Linked DNA regions of Homo sapiens: region 1 is linked to region 2. The links are contacts of gene promoters, found by promoter capture Hi-C in human tissues and cell types (Jung and others, 2019). All regions are on one chromosome and are shown on one strand. Each heading gives the region's core, a stretch centred on a gene start or on the middle of the fragment in contact. The rest is flanking DNA. Distances are from core to core; before and after follow the strand shown.

The links. The method cuts DNA at HindIII sites, captures the fragments that hold promoters and counts their contacts. A contact is called where the count stands out against the background at its distance.
Region 1: a contact is called between a fragment that was not itself captured here and the fragment with the promoter of ORAI2 in region 2, in 1 of the 25 tissues and cell types used here (psoas muscle).

Annotation. Positions count from the first base shown.
Region 1 is chr7:102,376,514-102,383,011 of GRCh38, reverse strand. All of the region lies in intron 4 of LOC100630923 (LOC100289561-PRKRIP1 readthrough), which reads right to left. It also overlaps the pseudogene LOC100289561. Among named protein-coding and RNA genes, the nearest start is that of PRKRIP1, 17 kb to the left of the region's middle. The HindIII fragment of the contact is 5,110 bases long and covers 808-5,917 here.
Region 2 is chr7:102,429,378-102,435,811 of GRCh38, reverse strand. It overlaps ORAI2 (ORAI calcium release-activated calcium modulator 2), which reads right to left and starts at 2,237. Exons shown (of 4, transcript NM_001126340.3): 1 at 2,151-2,237. RefSeq lists silencers at 1,828-2,607, 2,638-2,777, 4,176-4,470. The HindIII fragment of the contact is 14,608 bases long and covers 1-6,434 here.

The sequences.
Region 1 (6,498 bases), core at 2,113-4,612, 54 kb after region 2:
CTCCTGGGCTCAAGCCATCCTCCTGCCCTGGCCTCCCAAAGTGCTGGGATTATAGGCATGAGCCACGGTGCCCAGCCTTTGTCTTAGTTTTTGGTCCCCCTCACCCGACCCCAGAGTTCTAGAACCATTCCCTTGCAAAGAAAGGGACTGCTCACGGCTGGGGATGGAGAAGTGCTGTGGTAGGAGCCCTTTCTTCTCTTTCTTCCCCAGCTGGATCGCCAAACCTACCCTGCGGTCGTCGTCTTCCTGGCCCCATAGCTCCTCCTCACCAAGCATGTCTTCCCCACTGCAGAGAGCTGTGGGAGATACCAAGAGGGCCTTGTCTGCATCTTCTAGTTCCTCTGCCAGTCTACCCTTCGATGACAGGGACTCAAACCATCCCTCAGAGGGTAAGTAGATGTTGCATTGTGCGGCCACTTCCTGTGTCCGTGGCAGCCTTCCCCCTCTCGTTTTCCCACATTGATGATAATATTCGTGGGACTGTGTGAATACACCAGAAGTGCTGTACTCGTTCAGCACAGTGACACCCTCCCTCCAGCTCCAGGTGTTTTTTTTTTGGTGGTCCTAGATGTTGTAGACATCAAAATAGTAGTACATCCTGTTTTTTGTTTGTTTGTTTGTTTGTATGAGATGGAATCTTGCCCTGTCGCCCAGGCTGGAGTGCAGTGGTGTGATCTTGGCTCACTGCAACCTCCGCCTTCCGGGTTCAAGCACATCCTGTTTTTAATCCATCATCCATCGTGTCTAAACCTCTCTTAAACACATTTCTGTGTTCAGCATGTACAACCCCTGGTGGGGGCTGGGAGGTGGCAGATGGGTGAGTAAAGAGTTCTTTACTTGTTGCCTGGTAAATTGTATAAACTTTTTATCTGGTGTCCCCTAGTTCTTCTACTTGGGGATTTTGTAAACAGGTCTGTGTATCCTTATTTATTACCACATATGAGGTTATTTTGTGTAGGTTATAATAATATATCTTGGTTTTTTATCTTTCCAGAAGGAAAAAAGCTAATGTCATACAGATCTGCTTTATCCCCTGGCTGTTTTAATTGGCTTTCTCTGAATCATTTCTGTTTCTGTCAGTGCTGCTGTGGTGTACCCGATTATATCAATGTTACACACTTGAATTGATATGACATGTGGTTGATGTTTCATGGGTGAAATTTAACTCTAGGTCCATATTACTCTCCCATTTATGGATGAGTGATGGATGACTTCCTGGGCCATGATTGTTTTTCTCTACAAAGAGCAGTGATCTCTCTACCCGCTAAGTGAGTAGCATTTGATTCTCTTCTTCGGAGAGAATACTAGGAAGGGTTGTCCTTCCCGTGCCTCATTTCCTCATTCTTCGTCTCCACTGCTTTCATGTGAAAGTTTTCCTTTAAGACTTTGTCCTGGCCGGGTGTGGTGGCTTACGCCTGTAATCCCAACACTTTGGGAGGCCAAGGCAGGTGGATCACCTGAGGTCAGGAGTTTGAGACCAGCCTGGCCAACATGGTGAAACACCTGTAATCCCAGCTACTCGGGAGACTGAGGCAGGAGAATCACTTGAACCTGGGAGGTGGAGGTTGCAGTGAGCCGTGATCACACCATTGCACTCCAGCCTGGGTGACAGGAGTGAAACTCTGTCTCAAAAAAAAAAAAAAGACTTTGTCCCAACTTCCTACTAACAATAAGCTCATTTTTTCTTAAATTCTGAATATGTTTTTCTCATGGAGATGGGATGCAGTGAGAGACAGAGAAACTAATTCATTAGCCTTTTATATGGAGGGAATTAGGGTGGTTATATTTAAAGAGAACGGTACTTTCTCACAGGAATACTGACTCTTTATTAGCTGATGAAGGCAATGACTTTGAAGACAGCTTGAATCACAGTGTGAAGAAGAAAGCAGCAAAACGACCACCAAAAGCAACACCGGTGAGTCAGCCAGTTTTCTTTTGTTTTTGAATCTTGTGGGGGAAGCAGCCCAGCTACTTGGGAGGCTGAGGCAGGACAATAGCATGAACCCAGGGGGCAGAGCTGGCAGTGAGCCGAGATCACGCCACTGAACTCCAGCCTGGGTGATAGAGCGACACTCCGTCTCAAAAAAAAAAAAAAAAAAAAACCTAAAAGAGGTTCAGGTGATATGGTTCATAAAAGGACAAGATTTACAAAGTGTTAAGGGACGGAAATAGGAAGAAGAGAAATTTTGAAGAGAAAAGAAGAGAAAAGGACGTTAGGATATAGGGATACAGGAAGGGGACTCAAGGACTTTTTTTTTTTAAGGGAAAAAAGTTAATAAACTTCATAATATAAAAATCAATTATTTCAGGACTAACTCAGACTCTGCCATGGAAGTGGCAGCATAAGCCTACTTGTGTGATAATGATGAGACCAAGTGTTAATGTCATTGTTACCTTTTTTTCATATTTCTGATCTTTTTATACATATTAGATGGCAAACATCCAGAGAAAGGGTCCCGAGTGGTACATCGTCATAGCCGGAAACAGTCAGAGCCACCAGCCAATGATCTTTTCAATGCTGTGAAAGCTGCCAAAAGTGACATGCAGGTAAAGCAGTGTCTCACCTCTGTTGATACCATCTCACTTTTTGTAAGGTGGTAAGGACAAGTGTCTACAAACTTGATTTGATGTGAACGTTTTAGTGAATGTAACATATCAAGAAAGATAAGATTATGGAGTGAATCCTTGGAGTGATAGAAGGGTAACCTTGAATGAGAGAGCATGTTCCTTTTTTTTTTTTGAGACAGAGTCTCTTTCTGTCACCCAGGCTGGAGTGCAGTGGCACAGTCTCGGCTCACTGCAGCCTCTGCCTCCTGGTTTCAAGCGATTCTCATGCCTCAGCCTCCCAAGTAGCTGGGATTACAGACAAGCACCACCACGCCCAGCTAATTTTTGTATTTTTAGTAGAGATGGGTTTCGCTGGTCTCCAACTCCTGACCTCAGGTGATCTGCCCGCCTCGGCCTCCCAAAGGAGGCTGGGATTACAGGCGTGCACCACTGCACCCAGCTTTGAGAGAGTGTGTTCTTTTCTTAAAGGTATCACAGGAGTGATTATGCCTTTATTGATTGATGGAGCAGATGAGGAGAGGCATTACATGACATGGGAAGGAAGCTTGCATGTGGGTGGCACCTTGTTCACCCATGTTATTTTTTTAGCTCCATCTTGACAATTATACTTTTTCCCCTGTTTCTCTTTTTTATAATTTTATTGAAGTTCTAATATCCAAAAGTGTACAAAGCTTATATGTAGTTTAAAAAATAAAAATGAAATGATTACCCAGATCTCTAGCCCCAGCTCAAGAAGTGAAACATTAATAGTGCTGTAGAGATCCTTTGTGTACCTTCTTTCTACCCTACCTCACAGTCCCCTTATTACCCATAGGTAAACACTAGGGTGAACTTTGTGTTAATCTTTCTCATCTTTCATTATAGTGTTACCACTATGAATGTGTTCTTTAATTATGTAAATGAATCCATTATTCAGGCTTCTGTGATTTAATTATTTCAGTTAAGATTGTTTGAGATTTATCCACATTAACATGTAGTTTTATAGTTTCTGGGAAAATATTTAAAATTTTCAAACATACAGAATTTTGCTAGTTATATTTTCATTATTTGATTTCTAACTTTTTTGTGTTGTATTCAGGGAATGTGGTGTTTGAAATTTATGTAGGGGCTGGGCACAGTGGCTCACACCTTTGATCCCAGCACTTGGGGAGGCTGAGGCAGGCAGATCACTTGAGGCCAGGAGTTTGAGACCAGCCTGGCCAACATGCTGAAACCCTGTCTCTACTAAAAATAAAAAAATTAGCTGCATGTGGTGGCGTTTGTCTGTAATCCCAGCCACTTGGGAGGCTGAGGCGTGAGAATTGCTTGAATCCGGGAGGCAGAGGTTGCAATGAGCTGAGATTGTGCCACGGCACTCCAGCCTGGGTAACAGAGTGAGACTCTGTCTCAAAAAAAAAAAAAAAGAAAGAAATTTATGGAGACTTAGCCTTATGGCCTAGTATTGAGTTGGTACATTCATTTTATCTTTTCTGTTTCTTTTTCCCCCTTTGCTTGATTTCCTTTGGATTTCTTGTCTTCTACAAGGACCTGAGCACATTTTAATTCCAGTTGTCTTTATAGGTTTACTAGGTTTATTGTGAGCCACTCATTTCCCTGGAGTTCTTATGTGCTGGAATCTTTGGGCTAGGTCAAACGTGGTTTTTTTTTTTTTTGAGACGGAGTCTCGCTCTGTCGCCCAGACTGGAGTGCAGTGGTGCGATCTCTGCTCACTGCAAGTCCGCCCCCCAGGTTCATGCCATTCTCCTGCCTCAGCCTCCCAAGTAGCTAGGACTACAGGTGCCCGCCACCACACTCAGCTAATTTTTTTGTATTTTTAGTAGAGATGGGGTTTCACTGTGTTCACCAGGATGGTCTTGATCTCCTGACCTCGTGATCTGCCCGCCTCGGCCTCCCAAAGTGCTGGGATTACAGGTATGAGCCACCACGCCCGGCCATGTTAGGTTCTTTTTTTAACCACAATTTAAAATTAAATGAAGGGGGCTGGGTGCAGTGCTCACGCCTGTAATCCCAGCACTTTGGGAAGCTGAGGCAGGCAGCTCACAAGGCCAGGAGCCCAACAGAGTGAACTCCTGGCCAACAGACTGAATCCCCGTCTCTACTAAAAATACAAAAATAGGCCGGGCATGATGGTGCACACCTGTAATCCCAGCTACTCGGGCGGCTGAGGCACAAGAATCACTTGAACCTGGGAGGCAGAGGTTATCATGAGCCAAGATTGCGCCAGTGCGCTCCAGCCTCAGTGACAGAGTGAGACTCTGTCTCAATAAATAAATAGGCTGGGCACAGTGGCTCAGGCCTGTAATCCCAGCACTTTGAGAGGATGAGGCAGGCGGATCACAAGGTCAGGAGTTAGAGACGAGCCTGACCAATATGGTGAAACCCCATCTCTACTAAAAATATAAAAATTAGCCAGGCATGGTGGTGTGCACCTGTAATCCCGGCTGCTTTGGGAGGGTGAGGCAGGAGAATCCCTTGAACCTGAGAGGGGGAGGCTGCACTGAGCCGAGATCATGCCATTGCACTCCAGCCTGGGTGACCAGAGTGAGACTCCATCTCAAAAAGGAAGGAAGGAAGGAAGCGAGGGAGGGGAGGGGAGGAAGAAAGGGAGGGAAAATATATATTATCTGGGCCAGTAAAATGCAGATGAAGGAAAAGGACCATGATCCTTTGAATGGAAGATGGATCCACTGTAATCCAGGTATGGGAGAATACTGAACACTAATGTCAAAAGAAACAATGTGCTGATGATCTGCAAGGCATTTCACAGAAGACAAAGAACACAAACAATGGAGAGGAGACTAACACAATCAAATACTGGGAGGTGAGGAAGGTAGACAGAATTCATGATTTTGGAATGTGCACAGTTTATCATCAGACATTCTGAGAAAGAAGGAAGTGAACTATCTCACTGGTACTGCTATGTTGTCAAGTAAAATATTCAACTAGGTTAAAAGTGTCAGACATATCAATCTGGAGGCAAACTGCAAAAATACACAAGAAAAAAGGTCTTAGAAGTTGAGATTAGAAAAACTCTTTTAAGGGATACAAAGAAAACCAAAAAAGTAGAAAACGGGTTCTAGGGGGACACTCCTGAAAAGGCAAGAAAAGGAACCAACATTCCCTTATGAAATTCACACTTCCTGAATGTCTACTATGGACAGAGCATGATGCCAGTTATGGGGAAGGGGAAATGAACACACAGACGGGTCATAAATGAGCACTGGGGAAAGAGGGGAAAGCTGAGGGAGCGCTATATCATCACATCAACTGAGCATGGACTTGGGGAAATAAGGTAAACCACAAGCTGTGACTCAATTCGCAAGCATAGGTAGAGGACGAGGTTTTGGTATCTGAATGCCTAAAGAAGTAAATAAAATCGAGGGCAGAAAATAAGTCCAAGGTATTTTTAAAGCAAGGAAGGAAAGAAAATGGAAGATTAAAAGAATGAACCTAAAAGTCTCAAGTTAATTTTTATGTCAGACTTCTGAATGCCCCAAAACAAAACAATTCTGTAAGGCCGAAAGCAGTGGCTCAGGACTGTAATCTCAGCACTTTGGAAGGCTGAGGTGGGCAGATCACTTGAGGCCAGAAGTTCAAGACCAGCATGGCCAACATGGTGAAACCCAGTCTCTATTAAAAATACAAAAATTAGCCAGGCGTGGTGACATGTGCCTGTAATCCCAGCTACTCAGGAGGCTGAGGAAGGAGAATCGCTTGAACCTGAGAGATAGTGGTTGCAGTGAGCGAGAACATACCAGTGCACACCAGCCTGGGTGATAGAACAAGACTCTGTCTCCAAAAAACAAACAAACAAACAAACAAACAAAAAACTCACAACAATTCTCTAATGGCGAGGGAGTAAATAAGTGAGCGATAATGCTGGAGAAAGAGGAAGTGACTGGGTCCCCAGTACAGGTTAGAATGAAAAAA
Region 2 (6,434 bases), core at 988-3,487:
AATACAAAAAGTAACTGGGCATGGTGGTGGGCGCCTGTAATCCCAGCTACTCAGGAGGCTGAGGCAGGAGAATTGCCTGATCCCAGGAGGCGGAGGTTGCAGTGAGCTGAGATCCTACCGCGGCACTCCAGCCTGGGTGACACAGTGAGACTCTGTCTTAAAAAAAAAAAAATAGCTGGGTGTGGTGGCAGAGGTTGCAGTGAGCCAAGAGCACACCACTGCACTCCAGCCTGGGCAACAGAGCGAGACTCCATCTCAAAAAAAAAAAAAAAAAAGAGGGGGGGGCAATCCTCATCCACTGAGCTAAAGGCTTCAATGGAGGGCAGGGAGCAGAGGACTGGCTGCCTCACACCAAGGCCAGGAAAAGGTGCTTGCAGGTAACACCGGGGAGGGGACAGAGCGGCCCTTTGCATGCCAAAGTGCCTCATGCCTGTAATCCCAGTGTTTTGTGAGGCCAAGGTGGGAGGATCACCTGCGGCCAGGAGCTGGAGACCAGCCTAGGCAACAGAGTAAGACGCTGTCTCTAAAAATAATTTTTTTTGACATGGGGTCCTGCTGTGTTACCAAGGCTGGAGTGCAGTGGCACAATCTCAGCTCCCTGCAAATTCTACCTCCCAGGCTCAAGCGATCCTCCCGCCTCAACCACCCGAGTAGCTGGGACTACATGTGTGTGCCACCATACCTGGCTAATTTTTGGTATTTTTGGTAGAGACAGGGTTTTGCTATGTTGGCCAGGCTGGTCTAGAACTCCTGAGCTCAAGTGATCCGCCCACCTTGGCCTCCCAAAGTGCTGAGATTATAGGCATGAACCACTGCGCCTGGCCTCTAAAAAGAATTTTAAAAAAGAGGGACCTTTCCTCAAAGACAAGATGCTGCCTGCATGGAAGGATTCCGAGAGACGGGAAGGCCACTCCAGGTGTACATGTGGGGTGGCTCTCCTTGTCCAGGAGATATGGAGGGAAGACTGGCTGCCACCTGGGGGGTGGAGGGGGCAGGGAGATGTGGGTGGAAGACACTTGGAGCCTGGGGCTGTGGAATGAGCCAGAGGGTCTGGGCAGCATGACTGGGCGTCCAGCCACAGGAGAATGGAAGAAATTGGTGAGTGGAACGGTCTGGGCACTGCTAGATCATTCTGGTTTGGGACCACAGTTCAACCCAGGGAAATGGCTGGCCGACTGGCAGGAGTGGGACGCAAGGGAGAGCCTGGTGGCCTCCAAAGGAAGGAAGGGTGAACAAGAGGGATGCCCCATCAGTAAGGGTGGGCTGGGCTCAGGTCTGAGAGTGGAGGTGAAGAGCTCAGGGCAGTGAGGGCTGAGGGTGGCTTCCTGGGAGCCGCCAGGCCTCCCATGCCCCATCGGTGAGGCCCTGCAGATGTCCCCAGAGTGGGTGGGATTGTGGAGGAAACGATGTCTGTCTGCCTGGAGCTGGGTCTTGAGACAGGTCTCCAGGTCTCGAAGGAGCAGCCCAGGAGGGGGTTCAAATCCATCCTTTATGTTCCCAATGCCAACTGTGTGTGCCAGGCCCGGTGGCCCAGGGGGAGGGACAGAGTCTGGGCCTCACACTGGATCCCAGGCAGGGGGTGGGGTGGGGCAGGATGGAGCCCTGTACTTCTGTCAGGTGGCACAGACCCTAGAGGATGCTCCGGGACTGAACCTTGTGGGGTTGCTTTTTTTTTTTTTTTTTTTTTTTTGCTTTAATGAGCAGTCCGAGAAAACAGGTCTTGTAGAATAACGCGATCCCCTCTCTAGAGATGAGCTTTTCTTCCTGGCTGGCCTACTGGACACATTTCCAGAGGGCGGTCTTGGAGTTTGACTTCCTCTAAGCATCTGGGGCACCGGCAATGGCGAGTGTCTCTCTCCAGCAGGCGCACTGGGAGGGGGCCTCCCAGGGGCGCTAGGCTGCATCCCTGTCCCTCCCCCAGGGACGCCCCGGTGTCCGGAACCGGCTGCGCCGCCGACCCTGATCCTCTGGGCGCCGCACCCCGCCAGGGATCCCGCGGGGTGGAGGTCACCAACCCCGGATGGGTAGTGACCGCGCCCGGGCAGCCTACAGTCGTCCCCTTCCCCGCCGAGCGTCCCCGGTCCAATTCCGGCCCCCCCAGCCGCAGGGACCCCGCTCCCCGCGCCAGGCCCCCGCGCCGCCACACTCACCGGAGCTGCCCTCGCCCCGCCCGGCTCGGCTCCCGCTCGGACTGCGTGGCCGCGTGGCCTGTGGCCCAGTGGCCCGGCCGGGGCGCCGAGCGCGGCCCCCTCCCTCCTTCCGCCGGTCGCGCGGGGTCCCCCGGCCCCGCCTCCACCCCGCCCCCGCGGCCGCCGCAGCCGCTGCCAAGGCAACCAGGCGCCGCCAACACGTGACCCACCCGCGGGAGAGCCGCGGCCACGTCACCCGCCGGGCCGGGAGGGGCGGGGCTGGCGGCGCCTCCTCGGAGAGTGGGGGGGTGGGGGTCCCCGCCTCACCTGGAACCACCCCGGGATCGCGCGAGGGAGAGGAGCAGGGGAGGTGGGAAGACCCCGACCCGCGCGCATCCCTCCTGCCCCAGCTCCTGTCCCCGGCCCCAGCTCTGGGAGTCAAGGCGAGGCCCCCCACCGCCCCATCGGGGGTCCGGCTACCCACAGACCACGAGCTGGGCTTTCCCTGCCCCTGGGTCCGGGCGCAAAAGGGGAGCCCCAGGCTTGGCAGGGTGAGCCTCGGGGGGTGCCCAGCATTGGACGCTGGCTGCGTAGAGGGGCGGGGAGTGGGGACAGGGCGGGCGGGTGCAGGTGGGCAGTGGAGGGGAAAGGAAGGTGGGGAGGGGAGAATCCGTCTGGCCACGCCCGAGTTTTCACAGGATTTTTTTTTTTATTTTTTTGAGACAGGGTCTGGCTCTGTCGCCCAGGCTGGACTGCAGTGGTGCGATCACGGTTCAATGCAGCCTCGAATTCCTGAGCTCGAGTGATCCTCTGCCCTCAGTCACCCAAAGTGCTGAGGCTACATGTAGGCAGGAGCCACCACACCGTGGTAGTTTTTAAAAAATTTGTTTTTGTTTGTTTTTTGAGAGGGAGTTTTGCCCTGTCACCCAGGCTGGAGTGCAGTGGTGCCATCTTGGCTCACTGCAACCCCCGACCCCGGGGTTGAAACGATTCTCCTGTCTCAGCCTCCGAGCTACAGGTGCACGCCACTAGCCTGGCTACTTTTTTGTATGTTTAGTAGAGATGGGGTTTCACCATGTTGGCCGGACTGGTCTTGAACTCCTGACCTCAGGTGATCCTGCCTGCCTCGGCCTCCCAAAGTGCTGGGATGATACATGTGAGCCACTGTGCCCAGCCAAAAAAAAAAAAAAAAATTCTTTTTTTAGAGATAGAGTCTTCCTGTATTGCCCAGACTGGTCTTAAACTCCTGGCCTCAAGCAATCCTCTCTTAGCCTCTCAAAGCACTGGGATTACAGGCATGTGCCACAATGTCCAGCTAATTTTTAAATTTTTTAAAAAAATTGAGATGGGTCTTGCTATGTTGCCTCTGCTGGTCTCGAACTCCTGGGCTCAAGTGATCCTCCCACCTCAGCCTCCCAAAGTGCTGGGCATAGAGGCATGGGCCACCTTGCTTGGCCCCTGCCCAGGGTGTTGGATGGCACCATGAAGAGCTTGCACTGAGCTAATTGGGGGTTGCCACCCAGAGTGCACTGCCACTCACAGACCCAGCGAGACCCCTGGGGTCCCAACTTCAGTGCAGCGTGCTGTCCTTCTCATGCTGTTCGCAGACAGCAGCAAAGAGTTTCTGCTGTGCCCTGGCCCCTTCCACTCCCTACTGCAGGGAGCCTCTCACCTTTAACGGTGAATTCTCTGCGGTTTTACGAGCGAGGCAGTCAAACAGGAGCATTCTTTTCAGGAAGTGCAGCACATGAATAATTCACAGACAGACAAGATGGGTTCCTATCAGCCCGGCGGTGCCAGACGGTCCCTTGGAGTCCTTCCTCCATGCCGGGTAGGCTGCTGCGTGCCCTACATAGGATTTTTCCATCTGTCACAACAGCATTGGACCGTGACACATTTATCCAAACGAAGGAAAAATTCCACTCATGTCAGCCAGCCCACATTTTATGACAATTGGAAGAGTAGATGTTACGGACGCCAGGTTAAATCCATCTACACTTCGAGTTGTCTTTTACAGGCTACTGCTGACAGCCAGAATGAAACCAGGAGGACACTTAGTCTAATAAACCAGGTTTCCCCCTCCGGGTTACTGACCTAAAAGGCAAGTTAGGCCCTAACATGGACATAAGCAAATCCCAGGGTTCCTTACTGGCCCTCCTCCTGCCACCCCCATCAATGGCTATGGGTGAGGGAACATTTGAATTTCAGGGGTAAAGTCCTCAAAAAGCAATCATGTTATGGCTTTCCAACGTGGAGTTCTTGGTAAAATGAATCTCGGTGGCTCATGCCTGTAATCCCAGCACTTTGGGAGGCTGATCACCTGAGGCCTGGAGTTCAAGACCAGCCAGGTCAACTGGTAAAACCCCATATCTACTAAAAATACAAAAATTAGCCAGGCATGGTAGCGCACGCCTGTAGTCCCAGCTACTGGGGAGGCTGAGGCAGAAGAATCGCTTGAACCTGGGAGGCGGAGGTTGCAGTGAGCCAAGATCACACCATTGCACTCCAGCCTGGGCCAGAGAGCAAGACTCTGTCTCAAAACACACACACACACACACACACACAAAACAGGAAGAAAACACTTTGTAAACGCAGTAGTTTGCATCATAGATGAATGTGCTTTCAGCAAAGGAGTCCTTTGCTTGTTGAATTCTCACTCTTGCAGCGACTTCACTCATCCTTGAGAAAGCTTCCTGTGCCCGTTACTGATGCCGCCACCCCACAGGCATATTTATCCAGCATGCCCAGACAGAAGCAAAATGCAAGTTGTAATTGCCAGTGCTTTGCAGAGTTGGTTTCCTAACCAAACACAGAATAGCTTGCTTGCTTGCTTTTCTTTCCCTCCCTCCCTTCCTTTTCTCTTTTCTTTCTCTCCCTTCCTTCCCTCCCTCCCTCACTTCCTTCATTTCTTTCTTTCCCCTCCCTTCCTCCCTTCCCTCCCTTCTCTCCCTTCCCCCCCTTCCTTTCCTTCCTTCGTTCCTTCCTTCCCTCCCTTCTCTCCCTTCCCTCCCTTCCTTTCCTTCCTTCGTTCCTTCCTTCCCTTCCTTCCTTCCTCCCTTTTTCTTTCCTTTCTTTCTCTATCATATTTATGAGACAGAGTCTTGCTCTGTTGCCCAGGCTGGAGTGCAGTGGTGCCATCTTGGCTCACTGTAACCTCCACCTCCTGAGTTCAAGCGATTCTCATGCCTCAGCCTCCCAAGTAACTGGGATTACAGGCACGGGCCACCATGCCTGGCTAATTTTTGTATTTTTAGTAGAGACAGGGTTTCACCATGTTGGTCAGACCAGTCTCGAACTCCTGGCCTCAAGTGATCTGCCGGCCTCAGCCTCCCAAAATGTTGAGATTACTGGGGTGAGCCACCATGCCTGGCCTATAATAGCTCCTTCTTTTTGAGATGGAGTTTCGCTCGTCATTCAGGCTGGAGTGCAATGGCATGATCTTGGCTCACTGCAACCTCCACCTCCCGAGTTCAAGCAATTCTTCTGCCTCAGTCTCCCAAGTAGCTGGGATTACAGGCGCCCACCAAGTTTTTGTATATATTTTTTAGGAGAGATGGGGTGTCGCCATGTTGGCCAGGCTGGTCTCCAACTCCTGACCTCAGCTGATCTGCCTGCCTAAACCCAGAGGATGTTTCAGCTGTCAGCCCTGTCATCGGGGACCCCTCCTTCTACCAGGAAACCCTGTTCCTTGGCTCCAGTGAGTCTGCCTGCTTGTCCCCCCATTTTCTGTCCCCTCGATATGCGATTCTCAGGGTTCTGTCTGGGTCCCTCTCCTCTCTTTGCTCCTCCCTGACTGGTTTCATCTACTCCCATAGTTCCAAGGACCAGGGCAGCCTGACAACCCCATCATCACCTTCAGCCTTGATCTCTCTTCCCAGCACATATGCCTAGGGCCCTCCACTTTACCAGGCCCACAGCCGAATCTGTCATCTTCCCTCGCATTCCTGCCCCACCGCCTGGGTCAGCTGTCTCAGAAGGGTTCCCTCACCCACTCAGCTGCTGGCACCCATGAGTCCTCTCCCCATCGGGTCGTGACAATTCTCCCACCTCCACATTGCTGGACTCTCCCTTACTTCTCCCTGTCCCCACTTGCTTCTGCACTAACTCAGGCCACCATCACCTCTGGTCTGCATGGCAAGGCAGGAGCCCTGTCCCCTTCCACAAACTCAAAGGTCCCCCATGTCTCTCCATTCCAGCCCCTACCCTGTGGCCTTTGAGACTCCAGTCCCCTGATTAACAGGGTCTGAGGCCATGGCAGGGCGCCTCCTCCCTCCCCAGCTCGCTTTCTGGGCACTCTTGTTCTCC